2 separate regions of the Homo sapiens genome follow, and region 1 is linked to region 2. Evidence: promoter capture Hi-C in human tissues and cell types (Jung and others, 2019). All regions are on one chromosome and are shown on one strand. Each heading gives the region's core, a stretch centred on a gene start or on the middle of the fragment in contact. The rest is flanking DNA. Distances are from core to core; before and after follow the strand shown.

Region 1 (7,264 bases), core at 554-3,053, 63 kb after region 2:
AAATTAGCCAGGGTTGGTGGCATGCTCCTGTGGTCCAGCTACTCAGGACGCTGAGGTGGGAGGACTGCTTGAGCCTGGGAGGTCAAGGCTGCACTGAGCCATGATCACACTCCTACACGCCAGCCTAGGCAAAAGAGCAAGACCCCCGTCTTTAAAAAAAAAAAAGAAAGAAAGAAAAACTGCACATGATGAATTGCCCCTGTTATGGTGCTGAATACGCTTTCCTTCTAAAAACCATACGAGGAGACAGCCTTTATCCTTGTAAGATTTCACAAATTCATTTGACAATGAAGGGGGCCCATGGATTTTACTAAATCCTCCTCATCTTTGCCACTGACTATGCCTTTGCCCAATTCAACTACCAGTTGTTTTTAAATCACATGAATGTATCCCAGGAAAAAAATGGAGGCTTGAAAAGAGTGCAAGTAGAAGATAAAGAAAAGGCTTTTTAGAACTCTACTGGAATTAGCCAGTAGATGCCTTTGATTTAATCAGGGAAGTATAACTTACCTGCTTCCTACAAAATGAAGCCAATAAACTGCTGGTTCTTGTAAGTCACAAAAATGAACCATCAATATTCTGCTCAAAAAAAGAATGCATACATTCTGATCCTTTCTTCTCAGAAGTTCTCATACACATCCCCTCCTCTCTACTACCTCTGGTCTTACACACTCATTGCCTCATACCTTACACATCACAATGGTCTCTCAGCTGATTTAACTCTAGTTTCTCCATCCTGCTGCCAGGCAATCCCCCTAAAATACAATTGTATTCAATCAAACATTTCTATATTTGAACCTCTACATAGTACCTGCCCTTAAAGAATTCACCATCTGGTAGGGAAGACATACGTCTCATGATTCCCTTGTCCAAAATCCCCACCAATACAATCATTCTGAAGAACAATTTATCAACTTCTAGTAGAGTTTAAGATGGGATGACCGGGCGTGGTGGCTCATGCCTGTAATCCCAGCACTTTGGGAGGCCTAGGTGGGCAGATTGAGGTCAGGAGTTTGAGACTAGCCTGACCAACATGGAGAAACCCCATCTCTACTAAAAATACAAAATTAGCTGGGCGTGGTGGTGCATGCCTGTAATCCCAGCTACTTGGGAGGCTGAGGCAGGAGAATCGCTTGAACCCGGGAGGTGGAGGTTGCAGTGAGCCGAGATCGTGGCATTATACTCCAGTCTGGCAACAGAGCGAGACTCCATCTCAAAAGAAAAAAAAAAGATGCGCCTACTCTTTGACCTAGGGATTCCACTGCTAGCTACCCTATCTTGGTATACTCTTAAACACATAAACAAGGAAAGAAATATGTTTATAAAAACATTATTGTAACAGGAAAAAAAAAAGAAATTCCAAATAACCTAAGTGTCTATAAACGAAAAAATTAAATTTTCATTATACAAATTTTCAAATATAGAAAATATACATGCATATATATAATATATACTGTATATGTGTGTTTGTGTGTTTGATTATACACATACCTATATACCCATCATTGACATTCTAAATTAAAAGCTGGTCATCTTGCTTCATCCTATTCCTTTCTAAAAAAAAAAAAAATTGTACTTTACAGCTTACACATGTTGTATTTGGTTACTCTATCTCTAAATCAAGTTTATTCTAGGACACTTTCCCTTTCTCCCATCTACCTCTCCCGTTTTTCTCCCTCATGACATTGATTTGTTGAAAAGAATGGTCGGTTCATCTGTACCTCATACTGAGTTTTTTTTATTGCTTCCTCAAGATAGCATGTAATTTCTTGATCTTCCATATGTCTTACAAACTAAGTCTCTGAAGTTAATTAAAATTCGGATTTAATATTTTAGACAAAAAATGTCAATAGCAACATGCTTGATATTGAAGCACATCAGGAAGCACATCTTTTTTGGATCACTTTTAATGATACTAAGAATAATAGCTAGGTTAGTGATAGTCTAATCCTTCCAATGTAAAGTTATATTCTTTTAGCTTGAGGCCAACTAGAAATCTGTGGCATCATACTTTGGCTCCATGGGAATATCCAATTCCCAAACATTTTTGTCTGACAGTTTTAGCACCCATTAATGATCCTGGCCCAAATCAATTATTCATAACAGGTTGTAACAAATTGTCACTTTCAAATTCTTTATTTCCTTCTACATTACTTGGCATCCCTCACTAAATATAAAATGGTGCCCACTCAAAAGGCAGTTCAAATATATTATCGTTTTTCATTACCAATTTTCAGAGTAAAGAATAATAGCCACCTAGCCACCTCCATTTGTTCTATTTATTGTTATATAATCATTTTCTCAAGAAATTATTCTCCTTATTTCTTCTGATGTTCAAATTGTCCCAATTTTGGCCAAGGAGAGCCTTTTCGATTTGGCTTTTCCATCTTTGAAAGCTTTCTTGGTTTTGGCACAAGAATGTTCCAGGTTACGCATGTCCCCTGCTCCAGACCCAGAATCAGTCATTTCTTCAAGGAGTCCTGGATTCTTTCAAGTACAAGTATTTAAAGACCAAAATTAGGGTTTTAGAAGAGCTCACATCTACCAAGATGACAAAGTGTTTCTAGGTCCTCTCAGTGGACAGAGCTAAGGAACAAATTTATATGGATTGAATTAAGAAATGTATATTATAAATGATGAATTCATATTGACATTTATAATTCAGGTTCAAAATTATAGGTTTTGTGCTTAGCTTCTTTGATTTTATACTTGTATCTCTATTGATTCGTAATCATTCACATAAAGACTTACTGCCTTTATCCTACAATACATATCATATGGTGTCAAAATTAAAATACCAATATTACAACTAGCAATAAAATGAATAAAGGTGGGGGTTTTTTTGCAGTTCTTTTATCCTTAGCGTATATGCCATTTAGTATTAAGCTCCAAAGTCACCTGAAATAGTTTTTCTCCATGTATTTAAATAACTATTTTGATATAAACATGGATACCATTGTTCAAGTTTGTCTTCAATTTTAAGGATTTAAAAAAATTTACTATAATTTTTGAATGTGTATTTACATAATTCAAAAGTCAGAGCTAAATAATAAAAAGACACACTCAGAAATCACATTTCCATCCCTACTTCATGTATTTCCCATACCTTCTACCATAGGGTAACAATTTTATTAGTTTCTAATTTGTCTTTTAAGTGTTTCTCTTTGCAACATAAACAAATTTGCATATATTCATATTCTTATTCTCCACCCTTCCACTCTTACTTTTTTTTTTTTTCCCTGAAGGCAGGGTCTCATTCTGTCACCCAGGCTGGAATGCAGTGGCGTGATCATGGCTCACTGCAGCCTCGACCTCTCAGATTCAGGTGATCCTCCCACCTCAGCCTCCGAAGTAGCTGGGACTACAGGCACGCATCACCACACCTGACTAATTCTAATTTTTGGAGAGACGAGGTTTTGACATGTTGCCCAGGCTGGTCTCAAACTCCGGGGCTCAAGCAATCCTCCCACCTCAGCCTCCCAAAGTGCAGGGATTACAGGCATGAGTCACCATGCCCAGCCACCATTCCCTACTTCTCACACCAAAGGAACATACTAAACACACATTGTTCTGTACTTTGCTTTTTTTCCCATTTAATATATATCCTGGAAAATACTGCATAGAGATTTTTCTCATTCTGTTTTACAGCTGCATAGTACTCGGCTATGTGAAAATACCATTGTATACTTTTAATTAAAAAAAAACTAGTTATCTCTTACTCTAGCAATCACAAGATCTCACCTTGCAATTTGAGTCCCTCTATCAACTGCCTCACACATTTACTTCATCCATTTTTCTCTGAATATAGGGCCCTGACAGTCATCCGATTTTAAACAATTCTCCTTCCTCATCTCATACACACTTACCTTATTCCAGACCCAATTCTCCTTCCTCATCCCATACACACTTACCTTATTCCAGACCCAATGTCTCCCCTCATGCTATTTTCCCAGTTTAGAATGGTTACATCCTTTCTCTCCAAATGCTATACTTCAATCAAAGCCCATTTTTAAAAGATCTTTTCTCCAACAAAACTTTCTAAGATGAGCTCTTAAATTTCCTCAGCAATATATAGCATAATCTCTATGTTTCTCTTCATTCAACAAACAAATGTTTACTGAGTAAATGAAGAGCAAAGAGCTTATGTTCTGGGATAAGAACTTCACAATAAAGAAGTAAATAAGTAGTAGTAGTAGTGGTGGTTGTGGCAGTGATAAACGGTATGAAGAAAAAGTAAGGCAGAGTAAGAAACAGAGTACTAGATTAGGGATAGGGAATTGCCATTTTGGAGAAAGTGATTACAAAAGGCCTCTCTGAGGAGGTGACAACTGAGTAGAAACAGGAATGAAAGGGAAAGCAAACCTAGGGAGGATCCAAAGGAAGCATCATGATGCACAAGTCATTCTCTTGGTTGCTTAGCATCAAAACACCTTCTTGTCCTTGGGGAATTCCCTTCCATATGCATCTTGAAAGAAGGCAGAAACCTCTGCCTACTACTGAATATTTGCTTTCCTTGCTTCCCATAAGGCAAGGGTACAGTCATATGACCTCCACTCCACAAGAGAAGCATCTGTGCTGGACCTTAATGTAGAAGATAGTGCATTTAAAAAGCCGAGAGTGTGTAGAACCCTTAGTGGCAAACGTGGCAGCAGATTCCAATAACAGTAGTGGTAGCAGCTTCCTCCTGTGATAAATTCCTTTTCTGTTAAATTAACCAGAGATTATTTGACTACTTAGAACTAAGAATTCTGGCTGACCCTGGTGATCCAGGGAAATGGAACAGCATATGTTAAGCGCCCTGAGCTACAGTGAAGAAGTATAACAGGAAATGCAATCATAGAAATACAAATGGGCTGGATCACATAGAACCTTATAGGCACTAGAAAGAGTGAATTTTATTGAGATTACTAGCAAGTTGTCAGAAAGTTTTAAACAGGAGAGTGTTGTGATGTGATTTACATTGTTAAGAGGCTACTCCTGTTATCATTTGGTTAATACATAGTGGAAAGCAAGAACTGAAACAAGCGTACTAGTTAGAAAATTATTCCAGGCAAGAGCTGCTGGCACCTCAGGCCTGGATGATACCTGTGTGGTTATTAGACAATTTACCTTTAATTGCTATATATTTAAGTTAAATCTAACATCATATTTTATGCTTTCCATTTGTCCCGTTCAGTTTTTTTTTTTGTTTTTTGTTTTTTGTTTTTTTTGAAATAGAGTCTCGCTCTGTCGCCCAGGCTGGAGTGCAGTTGCATGATCTCTGCTCACTGCAACCTCCACCTCCTGGGTTCAAGCGATTCTCCCGTCTCAGTCTCCCAAGTAGCTGGGATTACAGGCATGCACCATCACACTCTGCTGATTTTTGTATTTTTAGTAGAGACGGGGTTTCACCATGTTGATCATGCTGGTCTCGAACTCCTGACCTCAAGCAATCCACCTGCCTCGGCCTCCCAAAGTGCTGAGATTATAGGTATGAGCCACCGTGCCCAGCCCCCTGTCCAGTTTCTTTTCTCTCCTTTGTTGTTGCTGCCTTCTTTCCCCTCAATTCTTTTTAGCATTCTATTTATTTCCTCTACTGATTTGGAAGTTATACCCTCTGTTTCTGTTCTTTTGTTGGTTTTCTAGAAATTATACCATGCAGTAAAGTCTAATCAAAATCTTTATTCTCTCTTTTCCCAAAAAATCTATAGATTTTAAAAGACATAAGCAACACATCAACAAAATGCAATATGTAGACCCTGTTTGGATTCCAGTTTGAAGAAACCAAATATAATTTTTTAAATCTTTTTTTAGATAATTGGGAAAATGTGAATACTAACTACATAATGCTAAGAAATTATTGATTTTTTTCTGTATATGATACTGGTATTATACTTTAAGCCCATATCTTTTATAAGAACAATATATTTATGGGTTAAATAATGTGATTGTTAGGACTTACTTTAAAATACTTGGGATATATATAAAAACACTTTAGTCATGAATTCATAACTGTTGAAGGTGGGTAATAAATACATAAGGATTCATTATACTCTTCTCTTTTACATATTTAAAATTTTCCATAAGAGGTTTTTTTTAAATTACTATCCTTCTAGGTAAGACAAGGACCTTAAATCCTAGACTCTACCTATCCTACTTGTTATACCCTTGTTTTTAATCCATTAGACATTTTTACTATGTTTAATGCAATCCATATTCATTTTCATTCTCTAAATATGTATCATTTTCTTTACCTTTAATTTACTCTTCATACATTTCATTTTGTGATTTGAGATCAATTTCATCCTGTCCTAAGTATATCCTTTAAAAACATACTGTCCAATATGGTGCATGTGGATATTTAATAAAAATTAAGTTTATTGGCTTAATAACTTATTAATAACTTAATAACTTATTAAGCCAATAAACTTAAAAATTCAGTTTATTGAATTTTCAAGTACTCAATAGCCCTATGTAGCTTATGACTACAATATTGGACAGCACAGAAAAAGAACATTTCCAGGCCAAACATGGTGGCTCACACCTACAATCCCAGCAGTCTGTAGGACTGAGGTGGGAGAATCACTTGAGCACAGGAGTTTGAGCCTGAGCAACACAGCGAGACCTCGTCTCTACAAATAATTTTAAAAATTAGACAGGTCGAGGTTGTGTGCATCTGTGGTCCCAGGTACTCAGGAGGCTGAGGTGGGAGGATTGCCTGAGTGATCACATTATCATTATATTATCACATTACTTCATCCATAAATATATTATTTTTAGCTCAGTGAGCCATGATTGCACCACACTCCAGCCTGGGTGACAGAGTGAGACCTGTCTCAAGAAAAAAATAAATAACATTCCCAATTCCACAGAAACTTCCATTGAACACTGCTGCTTTAAATGATCTTTCATAGGTGAGATGTTCGTGACAAGTTGTTTTTATCTGAAAATATCCTTATTTTACCATCATTCTTTAAATATATTTTCACTGGGCATAAAATTCTAGATTGACAGGTAGTTTTCATTCCATATAGTAGACATTTCACTGTCTGCTGATTTCCACTGTTGCTGCTGAAAAGTCATCTAGCCAGGCGTGGTGGCTCACGCCTGTAATGCCAACACTTTGGGAGGCTGAGGCATATGGATCACCTGAGGTCAGGAGTTCGAGACCAGCCTGGCCAACATAGTAAAACCCCATCTCTACTAAAAATACAAAAAATTAGCTGCATTTGGTGGTGGGCACCTGTAATCTCAGCTATTAGGGAGGCTGAGGCAGGAGAATTGC
Region 2 (6,492 bases), core at 180-2,679:
TGTATAATTTCTGAGGCTCACAGAATCCCTAAAGCACAACCATGGATCCAGACCAAGCCCCCTGCCCTGGCCTGGGAAATGTGGCACCAAATCTTAATGACTTTCTCTCCCTCCTGCTGCCTCCATCAACACCTCAGTGCTTAGGATATTTTTTAGATGCTAAAAAAAAATGTATCAAGTGAATGAACATATGAGTAAGGAAGGAAAAAAAAGTCAAGTTGAACACTCTGAAACTATTGCAAATTATTTATTCTTTCAGATTGCAGTCTTCAGTGCCTCTGTTGCTGTGTGTGCATGTGTGTGTGTGTACATATCTCTTTGTCTGTCTCAACATCCATTCCTTAGTACTCCCTGGGCTGCTTTTACCTAGGAGAGGGGACTCAGTTTCTCCCCTCTGCATCAGCTTATGCAAAGTTCTTAAGAACAGAACCAACCCCAGACAAAACTTATGAGACAAAGGTAGATTTCCACACCATTCTATCTTCCTTCTGCTCCCCTTCAACCCTCTCACATCCTGGTTCTTCTCCAGCAGGGCCCCACCAGAGATCTGAGAGCTCTAGACCTAACCCTCCACTGATCCAGGAACAGTGCTAAATGTATTTGTGTTCCACTCAGAAGATAAATATCCACAGGAACTTGCTCTCAGCTGACAGTGCCTTAGGAAAGCAATGGAATAAGCTAACGCACACTAATTAGTGAGTAGGAGGATATAAAACATTATAGAAATAGACATTCAAGATTCTTTTTTAAGCAACTACCTACTTTCCTGCTAAGGGAGATCCATGCCTGAGAACTGGATAACCACTTGGTTTTGCCTGATACAGAGTAGGCACCTACTAAATATTTATGAAATGAATGACTAAATGAAAGAACACTGCTGATAGATTCACACATGAAGGAATGAATGTTAAGAAAGAAAGGATTTGCAGTGATTACAGAATATTGAGAAAATTTTTTTCTATTTCAGAATATGAACAATCCCCTTTTCCCATCTAGTGGCTCAGGGATCCAAATCCTCAATTTTGTGGGAAAGTGGGGAGGAAAAGCAAGGCACGGTAGTGTGGACATATGTGAGAGTGGGTATATGAGAGGGAGAATGAAAGAGTGGTTGAGAAAAGTTTTACACTCTGATCCCACATTCCTTTCGCAGAAAAAAAAATGTTGCTGGTGCCAACTCTCAGAAGGCAATTCTAATGCTCCCATCAAATGTCACCCCAGAATCTAAGGGCCACCCACCAGCAGCCGTTCCTGCAGGAGTAGCAGCAGGGAAGAGGGCCAGGGATGCCCGTTGCTCACCTCTCTCTCTGTACTCCTCAGGCTCCATCATCTCCCTTGGGCTCTGGCTCCTTCTCACAGATGGACACGCAGGAGGTGGAAGGCGTGAAAGGCGTGGAGCAGCCCGGCTTCCCTCTTGCCAGTCCTGCGCACTCCCTGGCAGCCAGTGTGGGCCCTTTATTTAAAGGGTTCTTTCTTTGACCTTAGCTCCGCCCTTCAAAGTCCCTTCCTCCAGGTTTAATTAATTCCACCCTTTCTTTCCCCAGTCCTTGTAGAAAACAGCGACCACAACTTTGACTGGTCAAGAGAGCCAGGATAAAAGGCGCTTCTAAATTAAGCAGTGCACTTAGCAACCCAAGCCTGCAGGCAGCCTCCAGGTGGATGCCGTAAAAGAGCCCTCAGTTCTTTCTGCCCCTGGATTCAGACAATAGAGCTCCAGCCTCAGACAAGCTCCCAGCTCAGTAGACCAGAATAAGGCCAAGGGTATGCAGAAAAAGTAGCACAAATTATTAGTATTATTCCTGCCCCTGTTTCCTTATCAGCAGTAGGGAGGGAGGAACAGGCACTAATAGTGATGCCCCCTGTGCCCAGGAACAGGCAGAAGTTATCATTGACCACAATGGATTTTTCTATTACAACATACTATCTGTTGTTGCAAAGAATGAAAAAACACAGTTATAAGCCAAAAAGAATAGAAATTAAAACATCACCCCAAATTAATCACTTTTAGCACTTAAAGAAGTAGAAGGGGGGCGTGTAAAGGGACCTGCAGAAACCCCTGTAGGGAGGGGAAACACTATCCTTGGGGTTTGATTTCTGAGTAAAAAGTAATCCAACGTTTTCACGTTGCTAAATGCAATAGTCTTTCTTGTTTATTTGTTTCCAGTCGTCCTTCTGGTTCTCTTGGTGGCATTTTATTTGTTACTACTTCATCCTTGCAGCTCACAGTTTCTCTGGGCTTTCCTCCTACATCTCTGGCTGTTTGTTTCCTCCAATGCTGGCACACCTCAGGGCATTGCCCTCCTTTCATCTTTCTGCTTTGGTGGCATTGCCCATTTCTAAGGCTTTTTTTGTTTTGTTTTGTTTAGACGGAGTCTTGCTCTGTCGCCCAGGCTGGAGTGCAGTGGCACAATCTTGGCTCACTGCAACCTCTGCCTCCCGGGTTCAAGCAATTCTCCCACCTCAACCTCCTGAGTAGCTGGGCCTACAGGTATGTGCCACCATGCCCCACTAATTTTTGTGTTTTTAGCAGAGATGGGGTTTCACCATGTTGGCTGGGTTTGTCTCGAACTCCTGACCTCAAGTGATCCACCCGCCTCAGCCTCCCAAAGTGCTGGGATTACAGGTGTGAGCCACTGCGCCCGGCCCATTTCTTAGGCTTGAAATGTTACCTATGTGATATCCGTATAGGTTTAAACATACCATCAGGCCCTCCCTGTCTTTTGAGCTTCAAAATCTTATATCCAACTGCCTTTCTGACAAATCCTCTCTTATGACTCTGAGGCACCTCAAACTTAACGTATTGCAAAACTGTCTTTCCCCAAAAATATGCCCCACTTCTAGTCTTCCCCATCTCAGTTCATCATCTCTCCATTTTCCATCCACCCATCTATTCACCCCTTGACCGTCCATTCATCCAACCACTCATCCATCCAACCACCATCCATGCATCCATCTATCCTTTCATCCATCCATTCATCCACCCAAATGCTGAAGGCATAAACCTGGTGTCTTCCTTCCCCTTCACTTTCCCTGCTCCCTGCCCAATTCAATCTGTTCAGATTCAGTTCTATTTCCAAAATAAATCTAGTCTGTCAAATTCTCCCCATTTCCATGACTACCACCCTATTCCGGTCCAAGCCACCATTATCCTTCACCTAGACTAATGCAGGAGGCTTCTCATTGGCCTGTTACTGACCATGGGTTCTTGGGCTCTCAATGTAATAGAAATTGAGAAGGCCAAAAGAGTTTTCCCAGACAGGGCATTATCAGAGCTTATGCCCAGGCATAAGGGAGACAGCACGAGAGAGAGAATTCTCTGGCAGGCTCCTTGAAGAGAGTCAGGAAAGTAATTTTAGGCTAAAATAGGTAGGAAATTTTTTAATTACTACTGAAAAAACTACAGTGAGAAATCACTTCATACAGACTATGATGACTATAATAAAAAAGATAGATAACAACAAGTATTGGTGAAGACAGGGAAAAATTAGAACCCTCATACTTTACTGGTGGGAATGTAAAATGGCACAGCCATTTTGGAAAATAATCTGGAAGCTCCCCAGAAAGCTAAACCTAGAGTTCTTTATGACTCAACAATTCTACTGCTAGGTGTATATCCAAGGAAAATGAAATCATGTCCACACAAAAACGTATACATGGGTGTTCATAGCAGAATTATTATAATAGACAAAAATGGAAATAATCCAAATGTTCAGATGAATGAATGAAACGTAGTATATCAATACAACAGAATATTATTCCATGATAAAAAGGAATGAAGTACTGATACATACCAAAACATGGATGAACTTGGAAACATACTAAGTGAAAGAAACTAGTCACAAGGAACCATATATTATATTATTTCATTCATATGAAATATCGAGAATAGACAAATCTACAAAATAGATTCATGGTTAGAAGTGGGTAGGGAGCTGAAGATTGATGGCTAAGGAGAACAGGGATTTTTGGCAGGGTGGTAAGATGAAAATGTTCAAAATTGTTGGGTTTTGGTTTTGTTTTATTTTGCTTCGTTTTATTTTGCTTTGTTTTGTTTTGTTTTGAGATGGAGTCTCACTCTGTGGCCCAGGCTGGATTGCAGTGGTGCAATCTCGGCTCACTGAAACCTCTGCCTCCTGGGTTCAAGCAATTCTCCTGCCTCAGCCTCCTGAGTAGCTGGGATTACAGGCGTGAGCCACTGCGCCCTGCTGAAAATGTTTTAAAATTTATTATGGTGATGGTTGCACACTTCTGTGGATATACTAAAAGCTATTAAACTGTACACTTCAAACGAGGAAATTTTATAGAATGGGAATTATATCTCAATAAAACTGTTGATTTAAGAAAAAAAAAAGCCCTAAGAAAATAAGGGCATTGGTGAAAAAATGGCCTAGAGGATTTAGATTCCAGTGATATTGTCAATAAATCCTTCATTAGGAGCCAGGGTGGGAAAAATAATAATATTGACAACGATATGGGAGGTAAAAAATTTGATCTCATGGAGGTAGAGAATAAAATGATAGTTACCAGAGACTGGAAAGGGTTGGTGGGAGCTGGGGGTGAGGAATAAGTAGAGATTGGTTAATTGGTACAAACATATAATTAGATGGAATTCAATAATATTCAATAGCACATTAGGATGACTATAGTTAATAATTTATTGTATATTTCAAAATAGCTAGATTTGGAATGTTCTGAACACAAAGAAAAATGTTTGAGATGATGGATATCTTAAATATCCTGATTTGATCATTACACACATTGTATGCATGTATCAAAATATCACATATACTCCATAAACAGGTACAAATATTATGTGTCAATTTTAGAAAGTGCCAAGCACCAAGTTAGGCATTTTTATTTTTATTTTTATTTTTATTTGTTGAGACAGGGTCTCACTCGTCAACCAGGCTGAAGTATAGTGATGCGATCACAGCTCATTGCAGCCTTGACTTCCAGGCCCTGGTAATTCTGCCACCCCCACCTCCTGAGTAGCAAGGACGACAGGCATGTGCTACCACACTCAGATGATTATTGTTTTTTATTTCTTGGAGTTTTTCTGTAGAGATGGGGTTTCGCCATGTTACCCAAGTTGGTCTTGAACTCCTGGGCTCAAATGATCCACCCATCTCAGCCTCCCAAAGTGTTGGGATTACAGGTGTCAGCCACCACACCCAGCCAAGTTAGGCACTTTAAATAAAAAAGTGTTCGTTATTTTTTCTCCAAGTGTTGCTATCTCCCCATTATCTCTCTTCTATTCTGCAAATGCAGTCCTATGTTAAACTTGTGTATTATATATACTATTATATATAAATATAAATAGCATTGTATTCTTTATTTTCCATCTTCTTGTTTCTGAGTTGGTTTGAAAATATTTTTCTTTTTTAGTTGTCTCTTCAAATGTAGCTAATATAATAAACCATTTATTGATTTCTTAATATCAGATATTATATTTTTTCAGTTGTAGAATTTGTATTTCTTCTGCCTTATGGGGGCAAAAAAAGAATTTTTATTTGGTTCCTTTTTATAGTTTTCAACTCCTTGCCAAATTTTTAAATCTGGCCTTTTATTTCATTGAACATAGTGGATGATTTTTTTAAATTGCTACTGAACAATATAAAAAAAGACCTGTACAGATGAAAAGACGTACCATGCTCTCTCATGGAGTAAGATTTAACATCATGAAATAATGGTTTTCCCCTAAGTTAACCCGAAAATTTAACATAATCCCAGTGGAAAAATCAACAGGTTTTTGGGTGTTCTATTTTGGAATTCAGTGCCAACTTTTAAAGTTCTTAGGAAAAATAAACCAGAATAAAGAAGAAAATTTTGTAAGAGTAACGAGAAGGTTCTGTTCCTACCCAGAAGTATTAAAATGTATCCTGAAGCTCGAATAATTAGAACAATGAGGTAGATACTGGTGTACAAAGAGACAAACAAAAGGAGCAAATAAATTTAAACATGTACAGAAATTTAGCATATAATAAAGATAGCATCTCAGATCAGAAAGAAAAAGATGGACTATTTAATAAATTGTCCTAGAACAAGGTATAGCCATCTGGAAAGAAAAATAAGCTGTATCTATCTTTCACATCGTGCACTTAGATAAATTCCAGAAAAGTCAGATCTAAATGTGAAAAATGGAAGCATAAAATTACAGGAAACCATCACCACCATCAGGTTAACTGATGGCTTCATGGGTGTGTACACATGTCCAAACTCATCAAATAGTAGTAAATATATGCTATTTTTGTATATCAATTATGCATCAATAGAGCTGTTTTTAAAAGATGAAAATTAAATTAAGAAAATTAGAAGATTCCCTGGACAACCTCAGAGTAAAGAATACATTTATAACTATGGTTCAATGCCAGAAACCATAAATCCAATCACATTTTTTTAAAACCATAAGAAAAATCAAGATAAATGACAAACTGAGAAAATATATTTGCAACATATTTGCACAATGGGCAAATTTGTCTAATCTATGAAGAATTT

What was found. Contacts are between HindIII fragments. The study calls those that stand out against the background at their distance.
Region 1: a fragment that was not itself captured here is called in contact with the fragment with the promoter of HDC in region 2 in 1 of the 25 tissues and cell types used here (IMR-90 fibroblasts).

Annotation. Positions count from the first base shown.
Region 1 is chr15:50,326,683-50,333,946 of GRCh38, forward strand. All of the region lies in intron 1 of GABPB1 (GA binding protein transcription factor subunit beta 1), which reads right to left. Among named protein-coding and RNA genes, the nearest start is that of GABPB1-AS1, 24 kb to the right of the region's middle. The HindIII fragment of the contact is 6,963 bases long and covers 1-5,285 here.
Region 2 is chr15:50,264,297-50,270,788 of GRCh38, forward strand. It overlaps HDC (histidine decarboxylase), which reads right to left and starts at 1,430. Exons shown (of 12, transcript NM_002112.4): 1 at 1,297-1,430. The coding sequence starts at 1,327. The HindIII fragment of the contact is 21,543 bases long and covers 1-6,492 here.